Linked DNA regions of Homo sapiens: region 1 is linked to region 2. Evidence: promoter capture Hi-C in human tissues and cell types (Jung and others, 2019). All regions are on one chromosome and are shown on one strand. Each heading gives the region's core, a stretch centred on a gene start or on the middle of the fragment in contact. The rest is flanking DNA. Distances are from core to core; before and after follow the strand shown. Region 1 overlaps ENTPD3 (ectonucleoside triphosphate diphosphohydrolase 3). Region 2 holds the start of ENTPD3 (ectonucleoside triphosphate diphosphohydrolase 3).

Region 1 (7,055 bases), core at 3,614-6,113, 38 kb after region 2:
CCCGCCTTGGCCTCCCAAAGTGCTGGAATTACACGTGTGAGCCACCACGCCCCGCATATTTTTTCTTTCAACCAATATTTCAGCCATAGGGTGACCCAAGTATGATATGCTATAGATTATATGTAACAATTTTTGAAAATCATAGATTTTTTTCATACCATAGAGGCAGAAAGGGGCCTGTTTGCCTCCTTCTCAGTCATATGAAGATTTTTCTGGAAAACACTCATTTGGGTTATATTTGATGAATATTAAGCTTTTATAGGATTTTTGCAGAATCTTGTCACTGACCTTTGTTAAATAATTGCATTACTTGAATATGTACCTCAGTTTCCTCATCAGTAAAATGAAAGGGTTGGGCTAAATGTCTGAGTCAAGATTTTACTGTAGGGTGGCCAGGTGCAGTGGCTCACACCTGTAATCCTAGCACTTTGGGAGGCTAAGGCAGGAGAATCTCTTGTGCCCAGGAGTTTGAGACCAACCTGGGTAACACAGGGAGACCCCACCTCTACAAAACAAAAAATAATAATAATTAATTAATTTAAATTTTTTTTTTTTTTTTGAGACGGAGTCTTGCTTTGTCACCCAGGCTGGAGTGTAATGGTGCAATCTCGGTTTGCTGCAACCTCCGCCTCCCGGGTTCAAGTGGTTCTCCTGCCTCAGCCTCCTGAGTAGCTGGGACTACAGGTGCGTGCCACCACGCCTGGCTAATTTTTGTATTTTTAGGAAAGACGGGGTTTCACCATGTTGCCCAGGCTGGTCTCAAACTCCTGACCTCAAATGATCTGCCTGCCTCAGCCTCCTAAAGTGCTGGGATTACAGATGTGAGCCATCACACCCAGCCAAAAGAAAAGATTTTACTGTAGGGGAAGCAGTATGCCTTAGTGGCTTAAGTTGAACATAGTTCAAATCCAATTCCTTAGAAAAGAGAGTTCATAAATTGAATCAACAACATTCAGGACTTTAGCATAAAATAGAGTATTTTGCACCAGTAGATTAAAGATTGAATAGTCATATGGAAAAAGTAAAGCCAAGTCTCTGAGTCTTTAAATCAAATAAATTTCAATGGATAAAAGATTTATATGTGACAAGGATATTTGTTTGTAATGGCAAAATGATTGGGAACCACCTCAATGTTCATCTAGATGATATTCCTTAAATAAAGTATGGTTTATTTGTACAGTGGAATACTATGCAGCTACTAAAAAAATAGGCCACTGTATAAGTACAATGAATGGAAAGATCTCAAAGATATATAATTTTAAGTGAGAAAAGCAACGGGTAGAATGGGGTATATAAAGTGCTACCATTTATGGCTTTAAAAAAAGAAAAGCATGGGAGAAAATATATATATTTGCATGTGCATGCCAGATCTTTGGAAGGATACACAAAAACTGGCAATAGTGATTGTTTCCAGAAAAAGGCCTGATGGCTGCAAGTGGATGAGAAGGAGACTTCACTTTCATATGTTTATTTGTACCTTTTGGATTATTTTGCTAGATGGATGGGTGATATTCTACTTAAAATGATACATTATATATATCCATTTTCTCACCAAGTGAAGTTCATAAAACCTGGTTCATAGGGCTATCATAAGAGCTGGATCAGATAATGTGAGAGAGAGCCTAGCGCTATGCCTGGTACGAGGTAATTGTCACACACACACACACACACACACACCCTTTTCCCACCCCTACTTGAATTATCTAGACAACCTGTGATCAAAGACATGCTGACACAGAATGGTATTTTTTGTTTCTCTCTTGGCATTGGAGGGTAGTGATAGAATTTGCAAAAGGGAAATACTTGGCTCTCCACAAAAAAAGTGGTTTCTAATACCTTACTCTTTTTTTTTTTTTTTTACTTAGAGATTTTATTATTATTATTATTATTATACTTTAAGTTTTAGGGTACATGTGCACAATGTGCAGGTTAGTTACATATGTATACATGTACCATGCTGGTGTGCTGCACCCATTAACTCGTCATTTAGCATTAGGTATATCTCCTAATGCTATCCTTCCCCCCTCCCCCCACCCCACAACAGTCCCCAGAGTGTGATGTTCCCCTTCCTGTGTCCATGTGTTCTCATTGTTCAATTCCCATCTATGAGTGAGAACATGTGGTGTTTGGTTTTTTGTCCTTGCGATAGTTTACTGAGAATGATGATTTTCAATTTCATCCATGTCCCTACAAAGGACATGAACTCATCATGTTTTATGGCTTCATAGTATTCCATGGTGTATATGTGCCATATTTTCTTAATCCAGTCTATCACTATTGGACATTTGGGTTGATTCCAAGTCTTTGCTATTGTGAATAGTGCCGCAATAAACATACGTGTCTAACACCTTACTCTTATACCTACAGAATTCTCCTACCAAAAACCATCTCACCAATCCCTGTTACCCTCGGGATTATAGCATCAGCTTCACCATGGGCCATGTATTTGATAGCCTGTGCACTGTGGACCAGAGGCCAGAAAGTTATAACCCCAATGATGTCATCACTTTTGAAGGAACTGGGGACCCATCTCTGTGTAAGGAGAAGGTGGCTTCCATATTTGACTTCAAAGCTTGCCATGATCAAGAAACCTGTTCTTTTGATGGGGTTTATCAGCCAAAGATTAAAGGGCCATTTGTGGTAAGAGCAAAACCTTCTGAAAGATTCCTTTCCCCATTGAATATTCATTTCTCACTTTTCTGTTTCTCCTCTGCTGACTTGTTAGCCACCTTCTTATTCCTCACCCATAAACCTTTCTATTATACCCCATTCTGAGAACTAATTTTCTTCTGTATTACTTATTTCCAGGCTTTTGCAGGATTCTACTACACAGCCAGTGCTTTAAATCTTTCAGGTAGCTTTTCCCTGGACACCTTCAACTCCAGCACCTGGAATTTCTGCTCACAGAATTGGAGTCAGGTCAGTATTTAAAGAGAAGGGATCAATGTCAGTACAAAAAAATATGGTAGAATCTATTCTATGTGTGTGTATTCTGAATTTAGCCTTTATGCTCTTCTATTTCCATCACATCTGTAAAATAAAAGGAATAAGGGAATCTACTCCCACACCTGTGGTGTGAATTAATGTTATAACTACATGCACAATGGTTAGAACAATATTTGGCATATAATAAGCACTCAATGAGTTTAAAGATTAGTATATTGTGATATTATATAGGGATATTTTCATAATTATATTGTGTGATTATATGATTGTATTATAAAGTATTTTCTATTATGAAATTATGGGTGATAAGATTCTTTAAAACATGACTTTTAACCCAAGGTGTTCATTTTAAAACATACCTGCCTGCCCTGCCTCTCAGATGTTTTAAACCTTTCAGCTCCCACTGCTGCTCCCCAAATTTGATGAGGTATATGCCCGCTCTTACTGCTTCTCAGCCAACTACATCTACCACTTGTTTGTGAACGGTTACAAATTCACAGAGGAGACTTGGCCCCAAATACACTTTGAAAAAGAAGTAAGTTAAGCACAAATCATTTTCTCTTCTTCTTCCCAACAGAGAGGTTTGTATGTGTGTGTGGAACAAATGTAGAAGGTAAAAGGGTATTAATGAGTTAAACTCACTGGGTGGAAGCTGATCAGACTGATCCCTTGTGAGTTTCCCAGAAGAGGTCATGGAGAATTTAGAAGAGTTGCTCATGGGTATACATTCTCCTGGAAAAGACTGGAAGCCAAGGGCCAATGGACTAGGCGGTCCTGGAGGGCAGAGACCTGTCTTGGTATCTTCATATTCCCAGCACTCTGCACAAGGAATAGAGCCTAGAAGGTACTTAGTAAATGTTGGTTGAATTCATAAATAAATATGTTAAGGATATGAGACTTTTCATCCTGAAAAGAAGCTTTAAATGTAACAGTTTTTTAAAGAGGATAGTAACTAATTCTTCTCCATTTTATTCAGATATCAGAGTAAGATACAGGCCTTAGGGCCTGATGGATTTGCATTAGCATTAAATAAATATTTTCTCTTTGAATGAACCTGAAGTCATTATATTTACTGACAAAGATTTGGGGGATGGGGAAGATATTCTTAGCTCAGGGTTTAATATATTTAAAAATATGTATATTTATAGATATCTATAAATACATACATATATATATATGATGGTCAAGTGACCAGAATGGTCCAAAGCTGGAATCACAGCTGTCACCTGGTGACAGGTGAAAGGACCTCCATACCTTGTTTTTAGGCAGGGCTAAGCCTTGTGAATATGTTCAGCCAGCACTATGTTCCCCAGGTTCCAGAGAATTTTCTCATTTCAGGAATAGCTGATATGAAGCCTGAAGGATGTCTGGAGTCAGCCTGTTCAATACCAGCTTCAGCAATAATTAGATTAAACCAATCAATATCCTGCATTAGGCCTCTGACTATCTACTTTTACATAAATAAAATTGAGTCATCTACAAAAAAATAAGGATGTCTGGAGACATAAGGACTGTTGGTAGCATGTACTCTCTAAGCTTTGCTTCTAATAAATCTAATTACCAGTAAAGTATATTATAAGAATGGAGAATGACTTTCCATTTGAATGCCAGTTTGAGTTGACATAATATTCTAAGTTAAAAGTTCCCTTTTTTTAATTATAAAGAATTTTGTGTCCAGCCAAATTAGTATTTAAATGTGAAGATGTAGGCTGGGCACGGTGGCTCACACCTGTAATCCCAGCGCTTTGGGAGGCCGAGGCAGGCGGATCACCTGAGGTCAGGAGTTTGAGACCAGCCTGACCAACATGGAGAAACCCTGTCTCTACTAAAAATACGAAATTAGCTGGGCATGTTGGTGCATGCCTGTAATCCCAGCTACTCAGAGGCTGAGGCAGGAGAATCACTTGCACCTGGGAGGTGAAGGTTGCCGTGAGCCGAGATCACGCCATTGCACTCCAGCCTGGGCAACAACAGCAAAACTCCATCTCAAAAAATAAAAATAAAAATAAATAAATAAAAATGTGAAGGTGTAAAAAGACTTGAGAAGATTTGCTGCACAGAAGACTTACAATGAAAATATTTTTGGTGGAAGTAATAAAATAAGAAGAGAAATAAATCCAGGAGATGTTACAAAAACACTGGAAGTAAGAATAAATGATGTTGTGGCTTAAAATTTACATTAAAAAAGCCGGGTGCTGTGGCTCATGCCTGTAATTCCAGCACTTTGGGAGGCCGAGGCAGGTGAATCATTTGAGGTCAGGAGTTCGAGACCAGCCTGGCCAACATGGCAAAACCATGTCTCTACTAAACATACAAAAAATTAGCTGGGTATGGTGGCATGTGCCTGTACTCCCAGCCACTCAGGAGGCTGAGGCAGGAGAATTGCTTGAAACTGGGAGGTGGAGGTTGCAGTGAGCCGAGATCTCACCATTTCACTTTAGCCTGGGCGAAAGAGCAAGACTCTGTCTCAAAAAAAAAAAAAAAATTATATTAAAAAAAACAGAAAACGAACACTAAAGAAAAGTATTTAAAAAAAACTCCATTCATATGACTCAAGTATAGAAAATATCCACATGATAAGGGTGTGGTAAGGAGTTATAAGATACAGGGACATAAGAGTAACCTAAAATTCTCTTCTTGTCAAAGGAAACACAGAGATATCTTTTTCTTTTTCTTTTCTTTTTTTTTTTTTTTTTTTGAGACGGAGTCTCGCTCTGTCGCCTAGGCTGGAGTGCAATGGTGTGATCTTGGCTCACTGCAGCCTCCGCCTCCTGGGCTCAAACAATTCTCCTGCCTCAGCCTCCTGAGTAGCTGGGATTACAGGCACCCACCATCATGCCTGGCTAATTTTTGTATTTTTGTAGAGACAGGGTTTCACCATGTTGGCCAGGCTGGTCTTGAACTCCTGACCTCAGGTGATCCCGCCTCGGCCTCCCAAAGTGCTGGGATTATAGGCGTGAGCCACCATGACTGGCCACAGATATCATTTTTAAGGCAGGAAAGAAGAAAAAATATATATAGAAAAATAGCACTAATTGAAAATTTAAAAGTAAGATATTAGAAAGAAGTGTAAATATATTAATAATCACAATAATTATAAATGGACTAAACCTACCAGTTAAAAGAGAGATGTCAAATTGAATTTTTAGAAATCAAGCAGGTGCCATTTATAAGAGAAACATGGTTCAAGCATAAAGACATGGAAAGATAGAAAGATAATTTTGTTAAATTATCAAACACTACCCAAAAGAAAGCTGGTATAACTATTTAGTATCTGGCAAAGCAGTCTTTAAGACCAAGAGCCTCATTCTAGACACAGAGGGTTACAACATAATGATAAAATGTTCAATTCACTATGAAGATTGCAAAGGTGAAACATTTATACACCTAATAAAACACCCTAAAAACATGTAAAGCAAAAATAGATAGAACTACCAGAATAAATTGACAGTCAGCTTCCCATTTGGGCTGATTTTCTATTCTTAGGAACTGGTCCTGGGATCAGTAAACCACTCATTAGCCTCTTTCTCTAGCCACAAACACTCCTGTGCTCCTGGACAACAGGAACACTTTCACTGTTATTAACTGTGCCGTCTTCACTCTTGGCTGTGACAAGATTGTGAGAATTTGTTCTTTTGACTATTTCTTCTGCAGCGCTGGAGGTGAGATTTCCCCAAGCCTTTGTGGCTACAGTGTGGTGTCTTAACTTGGGCAAGTCCTTTGACCTCTTTGGGCCACAATTTCCCATGGGAGCTTTGTGAGGTTGATAGCAGTATGACTCCGGTATGTGATTGCAGCCTTGAGCCTTGCCCTGAGCGCTGAGCCATCTCCTCTACTCCACAGGTGGGGAATAGCAGCATAGCCTGGTCTCTTGGCTACATGCTCAGCCTGACCAACCAGATCCCAGCTGAAAGCCCTCTGATCCGTCTGCCCATAGAACCACCTGTCTTTGTGGGCACCCTCGCTTTCTTCACAGCGGCAGCCTTGCTGTGTCTGGCATTTCTTGCATACCTGTGTTCAGCAACCAGAAGAAAGAGGCACTCCGAGCATGCCTTTGACCATGCAGTGGATTCTGACTGAGCCTTCAAAGCAGCTCCTGGAGTCCAATG
Region 2 (7,083 bases), core at 2,097-4,596:
GGCTTGCTCACCTGGATGAGTGGGGAGTGCCGAGATGAGAAATGCTTGAGGAGTTGATGGTTTGGTAGGGGAAGATAAGGAGCTCTGCTTGAAACCCTGTAAATGTGAGGTGCCTATATGACACTTGAAAGATGAAAAACACAATTCTCTAGGTCTACAGATCAAGAGGGGAAGCCTGAACCCTGTATTTGAGAGCTTCTGTGAATAAAACAGAAGACGTAGGCATGGATGAGATTACCTAGGAAAAGAATACAGAATGAGAAGAAAATAATCCTGGAGACTGAGTCTTGAGAAACTCCCAGGAAAGGAGCAGGAACCAGCAAAATTGTCTAGAGAAGTGGGAGGACATGGCACGCATCAGATGCTTCAAGAGGGCCTGTTTCCTGGCACCTTCTCCAACACAAGCACCACTGATTATTATTGCTATTTTTTTTTGAGACAGGGTCTTGCTCTATAGTCCAGGCTAGAGTGCAGTGGCATGATCTCAGCATCTCAGCTCACTGCAGCCTCCACCTCCCAGATTCAAGTAATTCTCGTGCCTCAGCCTCCTGAGTAGCTGGGACAGGCATGCACCACCACACCTGGCTAATTTTTGTATTTTTTGGTAGAGACGGGGTTTCACCATTTTGGCCAGGCTGGCCTTGAACTCATGACCTCAGGTGATCAGCTGACCTCGGCCTCCCAGAGTGCTAGGATTACATGCGTGAGCCCCTGTGCCTGGCCTAGATCTTTTTAAACTTTGCTAAGCTAATCAAGTCTAATCAGTTTTTTTTTAATCTTGTTTAAATATACCAAAGTTTTAGTTGACAATTTTTGGTAAATAATGAGATTAAGCATCTCTGCCATGTTAGTCAGCCATTCATATTTCTTTTGTAAATTGGCCAATGCATGTGACTTGCCCATTTTCTATTTCAGATATTCATATTTTTCTATAGACTTTAGTATATCTTACGGTTTTAAACTCTTTACTGTCACATTCTTAGGTATTTCCTGAGAATTTATCTTTTTTTTGGTGGGGGGGGGTTGCAGTGGGTGGTGTCTTTCTATTCAGTCATTTTTCATTTTCATGGATTCAAATTTGTTGACTTTATTTCTCTTCCTGCTTTGACTGCATAGTAGAAGAGACTGTTCTTTCCCAAGGATGATAAAAATGTTCTTCTACATTTTTTAGTATGTCAAATTATTTTATACATTTAAATTTTTAAACCACCTAAAATCTATTTTTGTGGGTGATGAGTAATTAGAATCCTTTTCCAAATGAGCCAGTTGTTTCAATACCAGTTATTGAATAATATGTTATTTCAACCTGTTCTTTATCTTATAATCCTATATCCAATAGTCTGTTGTGGCCTATCTTTTTTGTTCTTTAGATCTCTCAGTATATTCCTGTGCCCAAGCCAGGCTGTTTTTATTACTGTGGCTTTACAATATGTTTTGATAGCTGGTGGGCAAATCTGTATTATTTTATAATCAGGAAAACTCACAAAGGAGTGTGTGTGTGTGTCTGTGTGTGTGTGTGTTCTTGCATGTGGAAGGTGGATGAGGAAATGCCTTTGAATGACTAGGTCTACTTTGGAAGCTGCAAAGGAGTTTGACACAGTGCCTGGAGCAGAGTTTCCAGAAAAGCTTGGAAAAATAAAAGGAGAATTGGAGACTACAGGGCTCTCAAAGGAGGCTGATGCTCACACTTACAAGGTCTGTAGGTTGATGCAAGCAGAGAGGAAAGCTGGCATGGACTGATCTCTGTTATTTTTATACACTAGCACTAACTGCCTTTCAAGGCCCATTAGGCCTGGAAACCTTTTCCCAGCCCCTGGGAAGTCACTGGGGATGCTAAGGTTAGTCATTCACCCACTGGGGCTATCTAACTGAGCTCAGGTCCGGGTGCACTGCCAGCAGCTGTTTGTGTACTTACAGCCCCCTGGGTGCAGACGGACCCCCAGCTGCCAGCCATATGCCTTATGTTTCATTGTCCCACAGCTTTCAAAGAAAACAAGTCTTTTAATTCAGCAAGTATTCACTGAATGTCTGACACCCCCAGTGCAGACCCTGTCCCAATCCCCCAATGGGGTCCACCTCTATCCAACTCTGGGTGAATGACCATGGTGCTCTTGCGCGCGGGCACACACACACACACACACACACACACACACACACACACACAGGCACACACACATAACTCAGGCTTGGGGCCCACCTCTCTGGGCTCAGAGGTATCAAAGCAGGGGCATTCCTATCTTAAGGACTTCTTGTCTTAGGGGCTTTGGCCCCACCTGCACAGGACAGAAAATTAGTGGATTTCTAGGAGAAAGCAGGCTATGGCAGGGTATAGCCAGGGACTCAGCTCTTCCTTCCAGACATGCAGGAACCATAAGGAGGGATGGTCAAACAGGGCCTGCTTAGGCCTCTTGCTGGGATCACTCCAAGGGTCTCTGGGGTCACTCAGAGGAGCCGGGAGGCTGCCTGCTGCTGTACACTGAGACAGACTCCTGGGGTGTTTGGATCACGGCAGCCCACATGCTGCCTTTTTGTTATCTTTTCTGTTTTGCCTCTTCCGGGCTGTACTTGTCTTGAGTTTTTGGCCTTATGACATCCATATTAAATGGGGTAGGGCAGAGCATTGCTCAGTAAACAGCAAGAATGGCCCTGGGCATGGCCAAGGCAGTTCTGCTAAGTGTGAAAGGGAATGTGCCTGCCATACTTTGTGCTTTAGGCCCAAGTGACCTAGGGGCCAGCCTGCCTACTGGCCTCACTCCCAACATTACAGGTGTTTGACTCTACTCCACCCCGTGGAGAGACGGAGCACAGGAGCCACCCACCGGGGGACCACATAAGGTCATGCACACCCACAGAGTGCCCAGTCCCTGCCTGGCCTTGTCCCCATTTTCCCTCCACCTAGGGTTGGGGTGACAATGGAGGTAACTAGAAGACAGATCAAAAGGTTCTTGGTCTTGACACAGATGCAAGAAGGAGGCAGATAATAGACACCTCCCTTCCCCCTCGCCCACATAGGCTCCGGTGGGTTCTCAGGGCAAGGCCTGGCTCCCTCCTCTCCGACTTCAGGTACAGGTGAGTGTGGAGGGAACTGAAAGAGGAAAGGTGAAGTGCTGTTTGGCTTCGACCTGGAGGGGGACAGAAGGCTCTCTGGGCAGGCAGGGCCGGTCTTTTGGCAAGAGGCGCGCTCTCTCTCCCTTCCCCTTCCATCGAGGGCTGGGTGTGAAGGTGAGAGCAATCAGAAAAGAAGGTGAAGAGGTACTTGGCCTTGACACGGACGGGGGGGGCGGTCCCAGGCCGAGGCCGCCCCGCCCCCGCCCCGCTATACCCGGCGCCGCCTCCCGGCGTCTGAGCTGACACCTCCTTAGCGCTGGCCGCGGGCCGCCTCTGCGGCAGCGCTAGTCGCCTTCTCCGAATCGGCTCCGCACAGGTAAGATCAGGGGACCCGGCGCCTGAGCTGCCGAGGAAGGAGTCGGGGGTGCTGCGTGAGACTGAGAGTTGGGAGGCAAAGAAACAAAATCGGATTTCCTCAGAGGGCCAGAGGAAGAGACTGAAACACGGTAGCCCCAAATCCTTGGGCGGCTGGGAGGTGGTCCCTGTCATGCCCACGACGGGTGGGCGCGTCTTTACCGACAGCCTGCATGGATCCGCAGATGTGCTGGGCGCTTAGATGCCTGCGGCTATGCAGAGACGCAGTCCAGAGAGGTGACCCCAGATCCTGGTGGGGGCTGGATCCCAGGGCCCCGACATCCCTTTGCAATTTCCAGCCAGCAGCTAAAGACTCCCTTCCCGGGGCTTTAGAGAGGCTCCAGGCTCGCGATCCATGAACACACAAAAACCTTCCTTGCTCATGTTCTGAAAAAAAGCCCCGCCTCAGCTTTGTGAATGTTAATAATAGGGGGAAGATTTGTTCTCTCTTGGGTGTGTGTACAGGTGGAACAATCTGCAGAAAAAGACCTTTTTTCGGAAAACCTTTTCAGTTTGAAGTTTCAGCAAATCCATTTTTCATTTCCTTTCATTTGGGGAGATGACATGAAATTTAAGCTCCAGCTTTGGGGCTGTCTCTGAAGTTCTGGGGTTCGGCTTACCTTTCCCGGGATGAGGTTTTGATTTGGAGGAAGTAAAATGGGTTTTGTCTTAACCTGGGCTCGTTCTTTAAACTTGTGAGGCCGGGGCGGTGGACTTACTGACATCCTGTATTCTCTCACCTGCAGCTAGGAGAAAAGATGTTCACTGTGCTGACCCGCCAACCATGTGAGCAAGCAGGTTAGTATCTCTCAGCAGGTAGCAAGCGTGGTTTTGCCAAATCGCAAGAGAACCCCAGCTTCGGCCTACAGTTTTTCATCCATATCCCCTGCAAATGATTGTTTAACTTTATTGGTTTGAGACTCAGTACTCAGCTGGGTTTCAACACCGGCATTCCTCAAATAAAAGTAATGCTTTTCATCAAAGCCACACAAAACAAGGACTAACATGCATGTTTCACTTAAATGGTTTTTCCGGTTTGTATAATCCATTAATTTGGCCCTTGTGGTTTCCCTTAGCTAGCTGTGTGTAACGTTTGCTTTAGAATACTGTATTGTTGATTTTGTGATCAATTGTACAGTACTTGGATCTTTCCTGTATTCCCATCCAAATGTTGCTGGCACAGTGCCTACAACACCCCCACCCCTCACTGTGAGTCAGTGTTGTTATGGTTGATACTGCAGGCACAAGTGCAGGATTTTCTCACACTGGAAGGCACACACACACAGACACACACACACACACACACACACACACACACACACACACTTCTAAGCTTGCCCCGCCTGCCTCTAGAGCACTTTTTGGAGTTGCTCATGTGGAAGCCCAGAAGGCTCTGGCTTCTCCAAGCTCAGGTAGGTACCTTGCAATTACCATGTTTGTCCAGCCCTAATGACAGCACAGCTCTAGGCTGCATTTCCTAAATGAGTAAGACCTGGTCTCATCCATTTTGCTTTGTAATAAGCTTTTCTGCAAGGACAAGAGTTTGCTTAAGGTAATCATAGCTTTTTACTTGAAAACTGCTGAAACACAGAAGACTTAGGAGGCCAGCCACGTAGCTGTGGTCAGGAAACTGCATACATATCACACACTCCTCCCCCATGGATAGACATTCTTTAGTCATGCCCCTAAATTGGGTATTCTTGTCTTCCAAAAGGATATGATTTTAGGATAGTAAGGGCAATCTATATGAACTTTTATTTTTGTAAAGGGACATTGCACTTGAGGAGCTGTTTTCCTTTGATCTTTAGGTTTTCCCCCAAAACACTTTGAAATGTTAACACAGATTGTAACGTCACTCATACAGACTAACCTGTTACATTCCTTCCAAAGGACAAGTTTAACTTGGCAGATTAAATTTCTACCCCATTTTGTTAGAGGGAAAAAATCCCTTAAACTTCTATAACTAACACTGACAAATGCATTCTTTGAAAGCTAATGCAAAAGTTTGCCTCTGTGGATTAACTGGTTCCTGTACTTTTATTTGGAATCACAGAAAAGTGATACAGGACCTCTTTACATGCTCTGCAGGTCAACTCCATGGCAGTTGGCTCTCCTTTCCATTGCTATTACCCACAATTCTGTAATGAGTAACCTTGTGTCTAAGTCATTTTACACATGTGGAGCTAGTTCTGTGGGATAACTTCCCAAAAGAGTGATTGTGAGTCAGATGGCATGCTTATTTGCAGTTTTCATAAATATTGACAAGTTGCCCTCCATTGATGCTGTACCAGTTTACACTTTCAATGACAAGGTAGGAGGATTAAGGTGTTAAGTGACCAACTTTGACACCAAGAAGTGTCTGTGACTGCAGCTACACTGCAGGGGAATCAGTTGAGATGGAAAGAGTTAGCTGTTCTGAGCCATGAAGACCTACTGCGTGACTGCCCTCCTGTAGCAAATGTTGTGATGTGACTGAATTTGGGGGCTGAATCTAATTATATCGTGGGCGCATAGACATGCCCTGTTATTCTTCTGGGAAAATGGCTTACAGAAATAATGGAGGGGTAAAGCATAGGTTATAATGATCTAGGAATAATGTTCTGGAATAAGACAGGATCTATCCAATTGCTGTTCAATTGATCTTCCTATAATGATGAAAATGTTATATGGCTGCACTGTCCAATATAGTAGCCACTAGCCCACATGTGGTTATTGAACACTGGAAATGTGGCTAGTAAGATTGAGAGACTGCATTTTTTTATTTTAATTAATTTACATTTAGATAGCCAATTGATTAGATATATATTGGAATTCGATGAATCTAGTGATCTTTCTATTAGTGTTCATCATATTTCAACCATTTGGTTGTCATTTATGTTGATGTCCCAATAGTTTTACCAAGACTATTATTATTATTTTTTTAGAGACAAGGTCTCACTCTGTCACCAGGCTGGAGTATAGCGGCACAGCTCACTGCAGCCTTGAGCTCCTGGGATCAAAGGATCCTCCAACTTCAACCTCCTGAGTAGCTTGGGCTACAGGTGTGCACCACATGTACAGTTGATTTTTTTCATTTTTTGTAGAGACGGGGTCTCACTATGTGGCTCAGGCTGGCATCTAACGCCTGGCCTCAAGCATCTTCCCATCTCAGCCTCCCAAAGCTGGGATTACAGGCATAAGCCACTATACCCAGCCCAAGATTATTATTTAGTCAGTATTTTCATTGAATGTCTTTTTATCTTTTTAAAAAATTAGGTATAACTTCTATTCAGTGAAATGGATAGATCTTAAGTCGTGCCCCTAAGTTGGGTGTTCTTGCCTTCTAAAAGTATGTTTTTAGAATAGTAAGGGCAATTTATAAGTTTATAATGTTTTTTTAAAAGGAAATTATACCTAAGACACTGATTTGCTTTCATTTTCAAGTTTTCTCCAAAGGACTTTGAAAGGTTTGATGAGTTTTGACAAATGCACACATCCATATACTCCACACTCTGTATAGCGCATTGCCATTACCCCAAGAAAGTGCCCACATATTCCTTCTCAGTGAATCCCTGCCCCAACTTCTGCCCCCTGGCAATCACTATTCTGATTCCTGTTACCTTCCTACTTTTGAACTTCAAA

Evidence for each region. Contacts are between HindIII fragments. The study calls those that stand out against the background at their distance.
Region 1: a fragment that was not itself captured here is called in contact with the fragment with the promoter of ENTPD3 in region 2 in 1 of the 25 tissues and cell types used here (stomach).

The regions. Positions count from the first base shown.
Region 1 is chr3:40,420,483-40,427,537 of GRCh38, forward strand. ENTPD3 (ectonucleoside triphosphate diphosphohydrolase 3) reads left to right here. Exons shown (of 11, transcript NM_001248.4): 8 at 2,368-2,640; 9 at 2,809-2,919; 10 at 3,344-3,481; 11 at 6,790-7,055. The coding sequence ends at 7,026. The region is part of intron 2 of ENTPD3-AS1 (ENTPD3, EIF1B and MYRIP antisense RNA 1); the gene reads right to left. Among named protein-coding and RNA genes, the nearest start is that of ENTPD3-AS1, 29 kb to the right of the region's middle. The HindIII fragment of the contact is 3,293 bases long and covers 3,218-6,510 here.
Region 2 is chr3:40,383,838-40,390,920 of GRCh38, forward strand. It overlaps ENTPD3 (ectonucleoside triphosphate diphosphohydrolase 3), which reads left to right and starts at 3,347. Exons shown (of 11, transcript NM_001248.4): 1 at 3,347-3,424; 2 at 4,209-4,260. The coding sequence starts at 4,221. RefSeq lists a silencer at 3,268-3,367. The HindIII fragment of the contact is 11,676 bases long and covers 1-7,083 here.